Regions from separate parts of the Homo sapiens genome. Here region 1 is linked to region 2. Evidence: promoter capture Hi-C in 16 types of primary human blood cells and fetal thymus (Javierre and others, 2016). All regions are on one chromosome and are shown on one strand. Each heading gives the region's core, a stretch centred on a gene start or on the middle of the fragment in contact. The rest is flanking DNA. Distances are from core to core; before and after follow the strand shown. Region 1 overlaps RIMS2 (regulating synaptic membrane exocytosis 2). Region 2 holds the start of DPYS (dihydropyrimidinase).

The links. Contacts are between HindIII fragments. The CHiCAGO score rates a contact against its expected background, and 5 or more counts as called.
Region 1: a contact is called between a fragment that was not itself captured here and the fragment with the promoter of DPYS in region 2, in 1 of 17 cell types (monocytes). The highest score is 8.5, in monocytes.

The regions. Positions count from the first base shown.
Region 1 is chr8:103,816,694-103,823,243 of GRCh38, forward strand. The region is part of intron 6 of RIMS2 (regulating synaptic membrane exocytosis 2); the gene reads left to right. Among named protein-coding and RNA genes, the nearest start is that of RIMS2, 320 kb to the left of the region's middle. The HindIII fragment of the contact is 3,695 bases long and covers 3,108-6,550 here.
Region 2 is chr8:104,465,704-104,471,646 of GRCh38, forward strand. DPYS (dihydropyrimidinase) reads right to left here and starts at 1,352. Exons shown (of 10, transcript NM_001385.3): 1 at 954-1,352. The coding sequence starts at 1,217. It overlaps LOC105375691 (a long non-coding RNA gene), which reads left to right and starts at 67. Exons shown (of 3, transcript XR_928507.3): 1 at 67-284; 2 at 4,024-4,122. RefSeq lists an enhancer at 3,106-4,305. The HindIII fragment of the contact is 2,857 bases long and covers 1-2,178 here.

The DNA of each region.
Region 1 (6,550 bases), core at 3,705-6,204, 650 kb before region 2:
CTGAGGGAACTAGAAGAAAGCTGCTCACTAGCATGGGTGTAGTATAGTGAGAGCTGGAAAAATAAGTCTCTGAGGAAGGCAGTTGATGTATCGTTGACTCTTTCAAATGAGTCATTTTTAAGTCTCATTCTAGTGTTTCCATTACTTAGACCACTTCGATGCTTTTTCTATGACTTAGTCTTCATATCCAATTTTGAAATATAAAAGAAACCTTTTTAACAGTAAATGTTGATTTGCAGTATAATCACCTTCTTACTTAGTAGACTTGTTTCTAAAGGGGTTCTGATTATTTATAAAAATTAAATCTATTTAAAAGGGGAAAATTTACATTTTTTCCCCTCACAGATAGTATGAGCTGTGAAATTGACTTGAAAATAAGAAATTTAAAAATGTTTGTTTACACTTGTAGAAATTGACCTTTCAAAGGTGTGAAAAATCAACTCATAATCAGAGGCTTAAAAATTAAAGCACCTCAGGTTGCTTCTGCTTGAGGTAAATGGAAGAAGCCCATTTAAAGTTACTTGCGAGTTAAAACATTTGAGATATTTGCTCTAACTAAAATACCCTTGATTAGGCCACTGGCAGGTAGTTTTCCTATTCATCTATTGAAATTGGCCATTTTACAATAGGTGTGCATTTGTGTGTGTGTGTGCATGTGCACATGTATGCACATATGTAAAAAAATAGAATCACAGGGAAGGAACATAGAAAATGGAGTCCAAAGCAAAGACAAAAGCAACAGGAAAATCAAAATATTTTTTCTATCTTTTATAAATTGTGTGATGTTTAATTCAATACAGCTTCAGGCCAGGCGCAGTGGCTCACGCCTGTAATCCCAGCACTTTGGGAGGCCAAGCTGGGTGGATCACTTGCGGTCAGGAGTTTGAGACCAGCCTGGCCAGTATGGTGAAACCCTGTCTCCACTAAAAATACAAAATTAGCTGGGCGTGGTGGCACACTCCTGTAATCCCAGCTACTCAGGAGGCTGAGGCAGAATTGCTTGAACCTGGGAGGCAGACGTTGCAGTGAGCACCACTACACTTCAGCCTGGGTGACAATGAGTGAGACTCTGTCTCCAAAAAAATAAATAATTAATTAATTTAAAAATAAATAAATAAAGCATCAGTTTCTTTTCATCCATAAAATGATGGTGGCATTAGCACATACAGTGTTTTCTGGATATTAAAAAATAAATTTAGAAGTGCTTTATAAACTAAAAATACTTTATGATTTTTAGGTATGTATGTGTGTTTGACAAATAGATTGGTGTATACCTATGAAAATCTGAAATAATAAATAATAGTGAAATAATAAAATAAAATAATAAACTGAAATAAAATGGGGGCACTCTTAGTTGAGAAGAAACCCATAATTGAACATCTTATTTTAAAAAATGGTTGTTTAAAAATTTATATTATTACATGTTTAATTTGTGTTGTTCTTTTGTGACATGATTATGCCAAAAAAGAATTCATAGCTTTTAAAAACTTAATGTATTTAAATGTCTATTTACTGATAGTGTATGGAAAGGGATAAAAGGGCAAAGAGTTAAGGTCAAAAGGGCAAAAAGGGCTGGATTTATTAAAGAAATGTCAAAGGTTAAGAGCTATTAAAAGTCAATGAAAATACTAAGCATCTCTGCAAGTGAGTTAATATTTAAAATTTGGTTTACACACTAGTTTTAGAGATCTGTTATGGAAAGATGGATGTACTTGGGTATAGAATAACCTAAATGTTTATCAGAAACAGAATTATTCACTGAGAATAGATGATGATGGGGTGGCTTTCCAAGACCATAGGAGCCTTCAGGAAACATTTTCTTCTACAAAATGCTATGACCACCATTATTGAAATAAATTAGTAATAATTGATAAAGTGTCTCTGGCCTTGACTGTAGGGTTTTTCCCCCACCTGGATTTGGAGGGAAGTTTTAATTTAATGTGTGGTGTTTAGGTGAATTTTAATTGAAAAGCTATAATGTTTTTCTAAAATTATGTGAATAACCATGTAGTCACTATGTATATAGCCTTTAGAAAGGACCAGATTCAACATTATCCACTTTTCTTTAAAAATAAATAAATGGAGAAATTTTAAAATAAGAAATTAAAACACCTAAGTACATGTTTTCCAAATGTACTTCTCTTAGAAATATGGCATTTTAAATGCAGATGATAAATGCTCTATTGTTGATCATATTTTTATTGCTTCATGACATCAAAAGAAGAATATACCACTTATTTTTAGAGTGTTCTGGTCCTTTGCAGCATCTTGCACATTGAAGAGATATATGCTGTTGCTGGAGTTGTTTTTCAGGAAAAGAGAAAAGGGTTGGGGAAATGCATAATTTCTCTTACTCTTACCCAGTAGTAGCATTGAGAAGATACCTTGTCCCCATTTTTATTACTTCTGATATTTTATTGCTGGCAGCCAGATGTGCTAAAACTCCTGACGACAGCATCTATTCATTGCATGTTTTTAATAGGCTTAGAGAAATATGAGTAGAGTACATGAAAGCAGCTCAGCTTCACACTTCAGCTGGGAATGCCCAAAAAGCTTACTGCTGTTTAGAATTCTTGCTACAGTCAGGAGAAAGCCGAAAGCTGCACGGGTACTGAATCTTCTACGACTGAATTAGAAGAATAATGACTGTACAATTAACTATCAACCTCTGTTCATTTAAGCACAGTTTTTACAGAGCTCAGGAGAAATATGGAACTTGATTGGCGTGTTTTTATTTGATGGTGTCAGCAAATAGATGATTTTAAAGACAGGTGGTAGGGAAAAATAAGAGAAGGGGAAAAAAAAAGAAAGAAAATGCAATTTGAGACATTGCGCCAGGTCTGCAATTCTGTTTTATCTCATTTTCATGGGGTTTTTTCATCCCCACCAAATATCTTACAAAATGAGCTTTTTGGACAAACACTGAACAATGCAAGGTGAGTAGAGCCAAACTATATTTTCTTTTAATATTGTTATTTTCAGAATAATCTTATATGCCAGTAAAAATTGTTTTGTATTGAAGTGCTAGTGTTATAAAGGTGTTATCTGTTTACTGTAAATATAAAATTTTATATAGCATTCTTAATTTGATTTTAAGAAGGAAAATAAGCTTACTTCAACCAGAAAAAGCATCTTAAATTTAACTAGCTTGACCTCTGAAACGTAATACAGATATCAGGCTGTTTCATTATTTTGTTTTCTAGATACATAAAATGACTTAAAAATGCCCGATAGATGTTTTCTTTGTGATCATGGCAGTGATTACATTGCATATATAAGGATGGGGCTATATAATCATATGTGATTTGTTTGAAAATGTGAATTAGCTCCTGTAAAACATGTGGAAGATGTTTTCTAGGTTTAAGACATTTCTCTATGCTGGGTAGCTCAATAATCACTTTTAAACAAGATATATTGTGGAACCGCGAATAATGCTTTGCATTAGGTCAGCTAATTTGGCAGGATTCTTTGTTATAAATTCCTATTGCTTTTTCAACCTGATCATTTTTCTATGGTGAAGGCTGTTAAATTATGAACATATCTCTCAGATGGTTTCTCTGGCTTACACTAAAAGATATTCTATTAAAGAATGTTTTTGGAATGCAGTTTTATCATCCAGTTCTTTCCTCATTTAAGTTGTTTGGCTTTTGAGAATTTCTCATGTTACATGCTTAGTAAAAAAAAGACCCCATTTAACTAAATATATGTGGAGAAGACTGAGAAAGAAATTCTGTGAACATGGCAATGCACTGAAACCTTCTGGAAACCGATGGGGAACTAATAGTGCATAAAATATTGAGTGGTTTTACTTGTCTCTTCTTCTTAGTATCTCTGAACAATGTGAGGCATCCTATTTTGGAGATTAAAAAAATACCGGTTATACAATATGTATTTTAATTTAGCAAATGAAAAAAAGGCTTTTAAAATTTGTTGGCATTTAAAATGTTTACTGATGATAAATATATTTATAACCTTTACTTTGAAAATGGGATAACATATCTATTTCTTATAAAATTTCACTTTCTTTCCTCAATCCAGTTCTGTTCAATAAACTAATTGGATTTTGTTTATATTTTATCTTGAGACAAATTAAAAACATCAAACAGTATATGAAATGTTAGGATATTCTAAATTGGATATCTGTATTTTAAGATGCTGTTTTCCTTTTTTAAAGTGATACATCACTTTAGTGTCTATAATTTATCATAAAAATATATATTTTATGTTATATTTAAATTAAAAAGCAAGTATTGCTTTCTAAAAATTTCCATGACCTGAAGCTACCAGAGTTTTAGGATTTGTACTCATCCTTTATAAACCTTTTCCTTGTTTTAGTTCCATCTTTTTTTTTAATGCCAAGAATTTGTGTGTAAATGTATTAATATTAGGGTTTAGGTATAGAAATTATGCTATTAACAGCATAGTAAGGAATTGGTTTTAAAGTATTAATTTAAAAATCTGAAAATAACTATTTTTTGAGGGAATTGTGTGCATCCCTATCACTGTGTACTTGCTTTGGCTTCAAGTTTCTTTTATTGTTGGCATGCCTATAATTTCAGTAAGAGCCTTTAAAGCTCTCATTAAAATCTGGACTTTTATGCTGCTGCTCTTAAACATAAGATTATGAAGTTTTTAATGCTTCTATACGACCAGTATGGTTTAACTTATATTGATTATTATCTAAAACTATCCCAAACTACCAATTACTCGATAAGTAATTTATCTTGCTTTAGGGGAAAAAAATCTCGGCCTTTATATGTTCTTATTAGTCTTTAAAAATCATTTGCCCTTATACCACAAATACATCTATGCATCTTCATAAATGTCCCATCAGCTACTTGATTTACTTTTAAGGTCAATCAAAAAGTTCTGCAAATAGTTATTGTTTTAGAAGTATGATGAGTGAAAAAATAAGTATATGAATTTTATGCTTCCACATATTTTAATTTTTTGGTTATTTTTTGTGTTCACTTTAGATACAAGGGTCTTTTAAACCTTTTATTCTGCTTATATTCTTTTAAACAATATAAATGCCTATGCATCCTGCATAGGTATTAACATTTTAATTAACACTAAAGTGGAAAGTAAAGACTTTCCACTTTAGTATAGACTAAAAAATTATTCTTGAAGAAAAAAATCATGGAAGAAGAATGGCCTGAATATGTCATCAAAAGATCTCATATGCAAGAATTTAGATTTTTTTTCTGAATAATGGACCTTTCAATTAGACATCTGTGATCTTCTTAAGCATCAATTATATAACTATCACCTCTGGAAAGAACAGTTTTGGTTATTAGTACATGAATAGTAATCATTTAATTGTTTGGACTAGTTGACATGGAATATTCAATATTTGTATTGTGACATTAACAATGATCTTTAAATTGATAGAAAAAAGCCATCAATTTGGACAATTAGATATTTTATTCTGAATTGCTTTCTAGTAGGGATTACTAGAATAGTACTATGCATCATTTGTAGACAATGTATTATTAAAAGGGGGCCTTTTCAAGTAGTTTTTAAACTAAGACTTTTGTTCGGTAGCTAATCTTATCCCCAAATCTGCAACTCAACTTTCATTAGGATTTTAGATGGTGAGGCAGTTGACTTCTATGACATATTAGCAATAAAACATTAAATGATGAAAATCTTCCATAACAACTGCTCCAGAAACATTTCCAAGTTCAACTTGTTAAAGGAGGAAAGATTTTTAAACCAACCAATAATACTGTATGTGTCATAAGTCCCCAAAGTGGAGATTAATATAGATTCTTAAGTGAATTAATTAACTAATGATTAAATGAAATTTATCTATGAGTAATAATTATTAAAATATTTTAGACTAACTTTTTGTTGGAAACCATATAGCACAAACCTTATTTTCATACTGAAAGTGTTTAGCTTATTCTCTTATTGTATGGTTCTTGAGTACCATTTTAGTGCATGAAGCAGGATTCTCTGTTCTTTTACAGCTAAAATGAAACAACTGGACGTCTAGCAAAAAGAAAACATGTGTCTGCATCCTGCATAAACTCACTTGACTCACTTGATAGGTTTTGATGAAATGCCACTTTAGTTTAATTTTTTGTTATCAAGTTTTCTCATTGTAAACTCTCTCTCAAGTGAAATTATTTAATCAGGACACAAAGATAAATGCTTTTGTCATTAGTAAAAAAATCAAGTACTGAGTTCAATATGAAATCTAATTTTTGTGAGCTTGTCTTTGGAAGCAAACATAAATATTGAGACGCTAGAAGATATATTTTTTAGCATTGTTCACTGCATTGAGTTATCAGTTGCTTTGGGCAATATTCAAATAAACATGCTAATGATGGCTATCTTTTGTGATAAAATTGATCCTCTGAGTTTTTCCATTTGCTAATTTTTAGCCGTCTTTTTTATACAACGAAGAGATCTGTATTTTCCTCTAGATGAAATTATTTTTTTGCCACTGAATGTGTGACAGTGAATTTGCTGTGACTTCTGGCCACACAGAGGCATAATAAAACTGGAATTTATTTAGAGTAGATATTAAAAACAGTCTTTCTCT
Region 2 (5,943 bases), core at 102-2,601:
TTTTAAGAAAGTTTATGAATTTGTGTTGGGCCGCATTCAAAGCTGTCCTGGGCTGCATGCGGCCTACAGGTTGGACAAGTTTGGTTTAAGTTTCCTTTCATTGACCCAAACTTCTAGGCCTTTGTATCTAGAGAAACCCAAGCCTACCTTCACCTGGGGAGTGGTGATCTGATTACCCTCCTGCAACATCAGTAAAACTATGGGTACTCCAGCAGCAAGAATGTTGTGTCCCCAGCGCAAGTGGGATGGAGAAAAGAGCCTGCTGCGAGGCTGCGTTGGTGTGTGTGAGTGTTGCGAGATCATTTCTGGAATACTTTCTCTTCTAAACCCTGGTCGGGGCTATATTTTTTCTACTGGGGGTGGGAGTGGGGGCAGAGGGTAGGGGACGGGAACGTGAACACGGTGGGCATCTAGCCTACTCAGACACATTACCTGCTACACTGCTCACTTTGAGTCAAGGCTGTAACTACCAGGTGAATGGATTTTTCATTTGGTTTTGGTTGGGGATAAAGGATGGGTCGAAATGGTTGGGAGAAATGGCTGGAAGTGCCTACTTTAAAAAAAGATTCTAAAGAATGTATGGAAGATTTGCGACTTCCACAGAACACCAATCAAAATGGGGTTGCGGGGAGATTTGGGGAGTAAGCGGTATAGAGAAATTAGGGTAAGGGGATGGCCTTAAACTCGTCAAATTAACCACTAAAGGAGGAGTCGAGGGCATCTGGTTGAGCCAAGGCTGCTCGGCTGCCGCCGAGAAGGGGCGCCTGAAAGGGACCCCAGCGAAGAGAATCTGAGTCCCCTCTGACACCCGCCGGGGCTGCGCTCCTTCCCGCCCACCCAGCTCCTCGGCGCCGCGCCGCGCGAGGCGGCCCTGCTGAGGACCCCGGGACGACTGGGGAGGCTGCCCGAGCCTCCGTGGGTACCGCGGGGCGGGGGCGCGGCGGGGCGGGTACCTTGGTGCCCTGGTGGAAGTCGTCGATGGACCGCGAGCCCATGAAGGGGAACTGCATGTGCGTGTGTGTGTCGATGCCTCCGGGCAGGACGAGCTTGCCGGCGGCGTCGAGGACCCGCAGCCCCGCAGGAGCGCCCCCGGGAGGCAGCAGGTCGTGCCCGAGTGCCCGCACCACGCCGTCCTCCACCAGCACGTCGGCCACCTCCGAGAAGTCATCGTTGACCACGCGACCCCCGCGGATCAGGAGCCGCGAGGGCGCCGCCATAGCGAGGGGCGCGCGGGGTCCTACTCGGCCCGGGCTGCGCGCAGGGGCTGGGTTGGGCGGGCCGGGCGGGCTTGGGGTGCCCTCCTGCAAGGTCCCCACCGACAGCCCCCGAGCTCTGCCTCAGGCTGCAAATCCGGAGCCCGGCGGCCTGACGGGTTTATGACCTGGCCGCATATGCGGCTCCTCCCCCCGGGAAGGCTGGGCTGGAGCCCAAAGGCCGGGATTGAACAGGTCCGCATGGTCCTTGCACACTCAGACCCCAAGTGTTCTGCGCCCTGAGTTGAGGTATCCACCCAGGCTTCGGAGTCATTGGAAGGGAAAGATCTTGGAATTTTAAGAGAAAGGAACCTGCGTTTTTCATCATAAGATTAGGTGCTAAAGGGAAAGAAATCCACCTCACCCTTTCCCTTGGTTGGGGGTGTGTTTGTACCAAAAGACAGATCCAGAGGGAGAAAGAAAGCAAGAACCATCACTAGAAGCAGCAACAAAAATACCCAAACCCACCCAAGCCAGAACAGAGCCACTCGATCTGGGTTTCCTGTTAAATGTTCTTAAGCGAGGAGCAAATTATCATATAATCCCAGTAATTGGCAGACACAGGGAAGGATCAGAGTAAAATATTTAATGTATTTGAAAGAAAACGACTTGGTGTCAACTATTCTCCACAGTTTAATGATACAACACATACCAGCAAGTGTTTCTTGGAAAATAACCGGTACTGTAACTCTAAAGATTTAAATTTCTACTCCCAGCTTTTCCACAAAACCAGTTTAGAGATCTTCAGTTAAATCTTTTATTCTCTTGGTTCCTCAGTTTTCTCATATATAAAATTGATTAATACTTGTTCTTGCCTTCCATATTTGCTTTGAGAAGCAAATATGATCATGGCTGTGAATACACCCTAATAAAGTGGGAAGCACCATGCAAATTCACTTAAATACTGGCTTTGTAAGGACTACAAAGCTTACCTGACTAGGGGGATTGGCTAGAGGGCTAAGTGGGAAAGATAAACCACATTTCCACCCTCAAGTAGCTAACAGCCAACAGTGACACACATTCATATTTCAATATATAAAACAGAACATTCTATCTTTGAGAAGGGATAAAGATAAGAATTTAGAGGAAAGAGTGAGTTTATTTCTGGCTTAAAGACATCAGATATGGAAGATTTGTGAAGAGGTATTTGAACTAGGATACAGAGAATGTGAACACGCAGAGGTGAGTGGTGGGAAGAGGACATAGTGCTCCAGGTAGAGTGAACAGAGCGTGTAAAGGCACAGAGAGGATGAAGGAATGCACTCCCTGTGGTTAAGCTATGAGGGATAGGCTTACACTGAATCCTGGACCATCCCTTTGCTTATAGGGGAGGAGGAGGAAGAAGAGACAGAGTGGTCAGAGAGAAGGGAGACCACAGGTCTGTGTGATGGAAGGCAGGAATGCAGAATTTTAAGAAGGGCAACAGGATGGAATCTTGCAAAAGGGTTATGAAGGGTCATGGGGAGGTGGGGTGGACATCTGCTGACCAGGCATATATTCTTGTCCTTATTCTGGTAACAGTCACTGGCATTTCTTTGGTGGGAAATCCTCTGCCTGAAGTCTCAGAACACTTGTTTTGGAGAAACTGATGGTGAGAGACAGGACTAGCTGGATTTCCTAGGCTGACTAAGAATTCCTAAGCCTAGCTGGGGAAGGTGACTACACCTACCTTTAAACATGGGGCTTGCATCTCAGCTCACACCCTACCAGTCAGGTAGTAAAGAGGGCTCACTAAAATACAAATTAGGTTAAAAGCAGGAGGTAAAGAAATAGTCAAATCATATATCACCTGAGAGCACAGGAGGAGGGACAATGATCAGGATATAAACCCAAGCATTCCAGCAGGGAGCGGCAACCCCCTTTGGGTCCTCTCCCATTGTATGGGAGCTCTGTTTTCACTCTATTAAATTTTGCAGCTGCACACTCTTCTGGTCTGTGTTTGTTACGGCTTGAGCTGAGCTTTTGCTCACCATCCACCACTGCTGTTTGCTGCCGTCACAGACCCGCCGCTGACTTCCACCCCTCTGAATCCAGCAGGGAGTCCGCTGCGCTCCTGATCCAGCGAGGCGCCCATTGCCGCTCCAGTTCAGGCTAGAGGCTCGCCATTGTTCCTGCATGGCTAAGTGCCCGGGTTTGTCCTAATCTAACTGAACACTAGTCGCTGGGTTCCGTGGTTCTCTTCCTTGACCCACGTTTTCTAATAGAACAATAACACTCACTGCATGACCCAAGGTTCCATTCCATGGAATCCATGAGGCCAAGAACCCCAGGTCAGAGAACAAAAGGCTTGCCGCCATCTTGGGAGCGGCTCACCACCATCTTGAGAGCACTAAGAACAAAGACCTGCCTGTAACAATGGGACCTCTAGCTCTGCAACTGAGCTCTCACCTAGACTCTTCCAATCAAGGCAGGGAATCCTCAAACCACAGTGATGATACAGGGATGGGCACATGCTCCAAACTTCTCATGCCCAAGAAGTGAGTGCAGATCCCAAGACTTCTTATTTTTAGGTTGAGCAGATAAGAGGCTTGTTCTTTCCTCTTGGACTTGAATTCTAGGGAGTGTAAACAAGGGGCTTCTGGGAGCCTTCTAGACAACACAGAGAAATAGCCCTTCTGTGAACAGAGCCAACACCAAGAACAGGAAGGAGAGACGGAGAGAGGCTGGGTTCTCATGACACTGAGTTCCTGAATCCCACCATGCCTAAAGGCCCCTCCCCTAGACTTCCCACTTTTGGCTTAAGCTGATTTGAGTCTTTTGTCACTTGCAGGGTCCACTGACAGACACTGGGAAGATACCTTCTTCATGTTTCGAGACAAGGTGGCCACATGTGACCTCAGAGATGGCATTTTCAATAGTGGAATGTGAGGTATTATTATTGCCAAATCTCCTAAAGCTTCAGCTTACACAAACCTCAAAATAATTAAAAATTAGAAAGCATCAATAATTTAAAGTTCCGTAGATTTGGCTGTCAAGCCAGGAACAAGAAACCCAAGGAGGTTATGCAATTATTGTCAAGGGACTTTTGTGTAAGGGTGAAAGGGGTAATTATAAACATAATGAAATTTCTACAAGCTGTACAAGTAAGCACCACCTTAGGAAAATAAGATTGGATGTCAGTGCAGCTGTGCCATCCTTTCTGAAATTGTCCAGATTAATGATTTCAAAGGTTTCTTTTATCTTACACAGTTTACGTCGTGAAATGCCCTGTAACACAACACAAAACAAACTTCCCACATTTAATTAACTCAAACTTTTATCAGAAAAGGGGACTTGTAGAATGTCACCGAGGTGGGAGGAAATGGCTCATTGAGATTAACTGACAGCAATAAAAGAGAGAGGGGGGTAGTTTTAGGGATAAATGTTAGCTCACAGAACAGAAGGGGCTTTGCCCCTTTCTGGCCATCATTCCCGCACACTAGCTTGCAGGGCAGGTGGCTGAGCCTGGACAAACCGGCTCAGTGGGGAAAGCTTGTTCTCAGCACACACTCACCTTCATTTTCTTTGTCCTACACAGCCTCCTCCTTACCCAGACACTCCAGGCCCTCCGTGGGCAGTAAACAAGAATCAGGGGACACAATGTTGTCATTGGGAGAAAGGTGGGATGCAGAGCTCCTGCTGTTCTTCATTCTTCTTGCTGGGGAGAGAGTCAGTTGTATTGATGAAAATATCAAGGATGTCTGAGAACATATTACCCCTCAGAGGAATAGTTTTAAAGAAGCATTTTACAGGATGGTTACAAAGATTGTCAGTGCTTAACCCATGAAAACACATCTATCTGGAAGTGTAGGTGAGGGTGATTTGGCAAGAAGAGCCTCCCATCCCTGCTTGATGGTCTACAGGGAGAGAAAGCCTGGAGGAGCAAGCAGGTGACTTCCTTCACTGAGTGGTTGAGATTTTGAGAAACAAGTCCACCAGGGTCAGTTGTATTTCAGTCTTCGGCTATCCTGGAGGAGCCAAGTTTGCTTTCCCTTTGCTCCTGACCCTCTCCACTCCTACTAGAGGCTCCTGTGGGCTAGGAGAGGTTTTTAAGCTGTTGTTTCCACCCAATGGAAGAGTTCTCTGGGGCACAGGGAAGGAATGGTGAGGGTGGGTGAGTGAGACTGAGCAAGGAGAGTTGGGCGTCTCAAAGCAGTGCACGTGCACCAGCATCTGTGGAAACTCCTGTTCCCTGGACCACTGAGGGATAGAATTCCCTGGCAGGGTAATGTATTTATACTTGAATCAATGATGAAAGTTGGGAAAGGTAGATGGCATGGAAAGGGTGGGAGAAAATTGAATGAGGAAATAGTAATCTTATCTAATAGTAATCTGATGCCAGCTTCTGCTGAGAGCTTGGGCAAGTCACTTAATGCTCAGGGTCTCCGCCTCCTCCACAGCTAGGTTGGCAAAAGCTTGTGAGACCCACCCTTCCCACTTTTATAATTTTATGATTCTCTGAATGGAGAGTTCCTGGTGTAGTCCTAGAATTACACTCTTCCCAGATTCAGATGAGTGAATTGGGAACCAAGTAAAACTTGCCTTCTAGATTCAGAAATATGTTATTCCTGGTCCTTCCACTGGGGCCAAGGGGCTCTCCTTGGAAAGGAGCTACATACAGAGTGTAAAACCTACAGTCATGGGGATGGGGCTGTGATGCTTGGTGGGACTGGTTTGAAAGTCCTCGGACTGAAAAGCAGGTATGGCATTT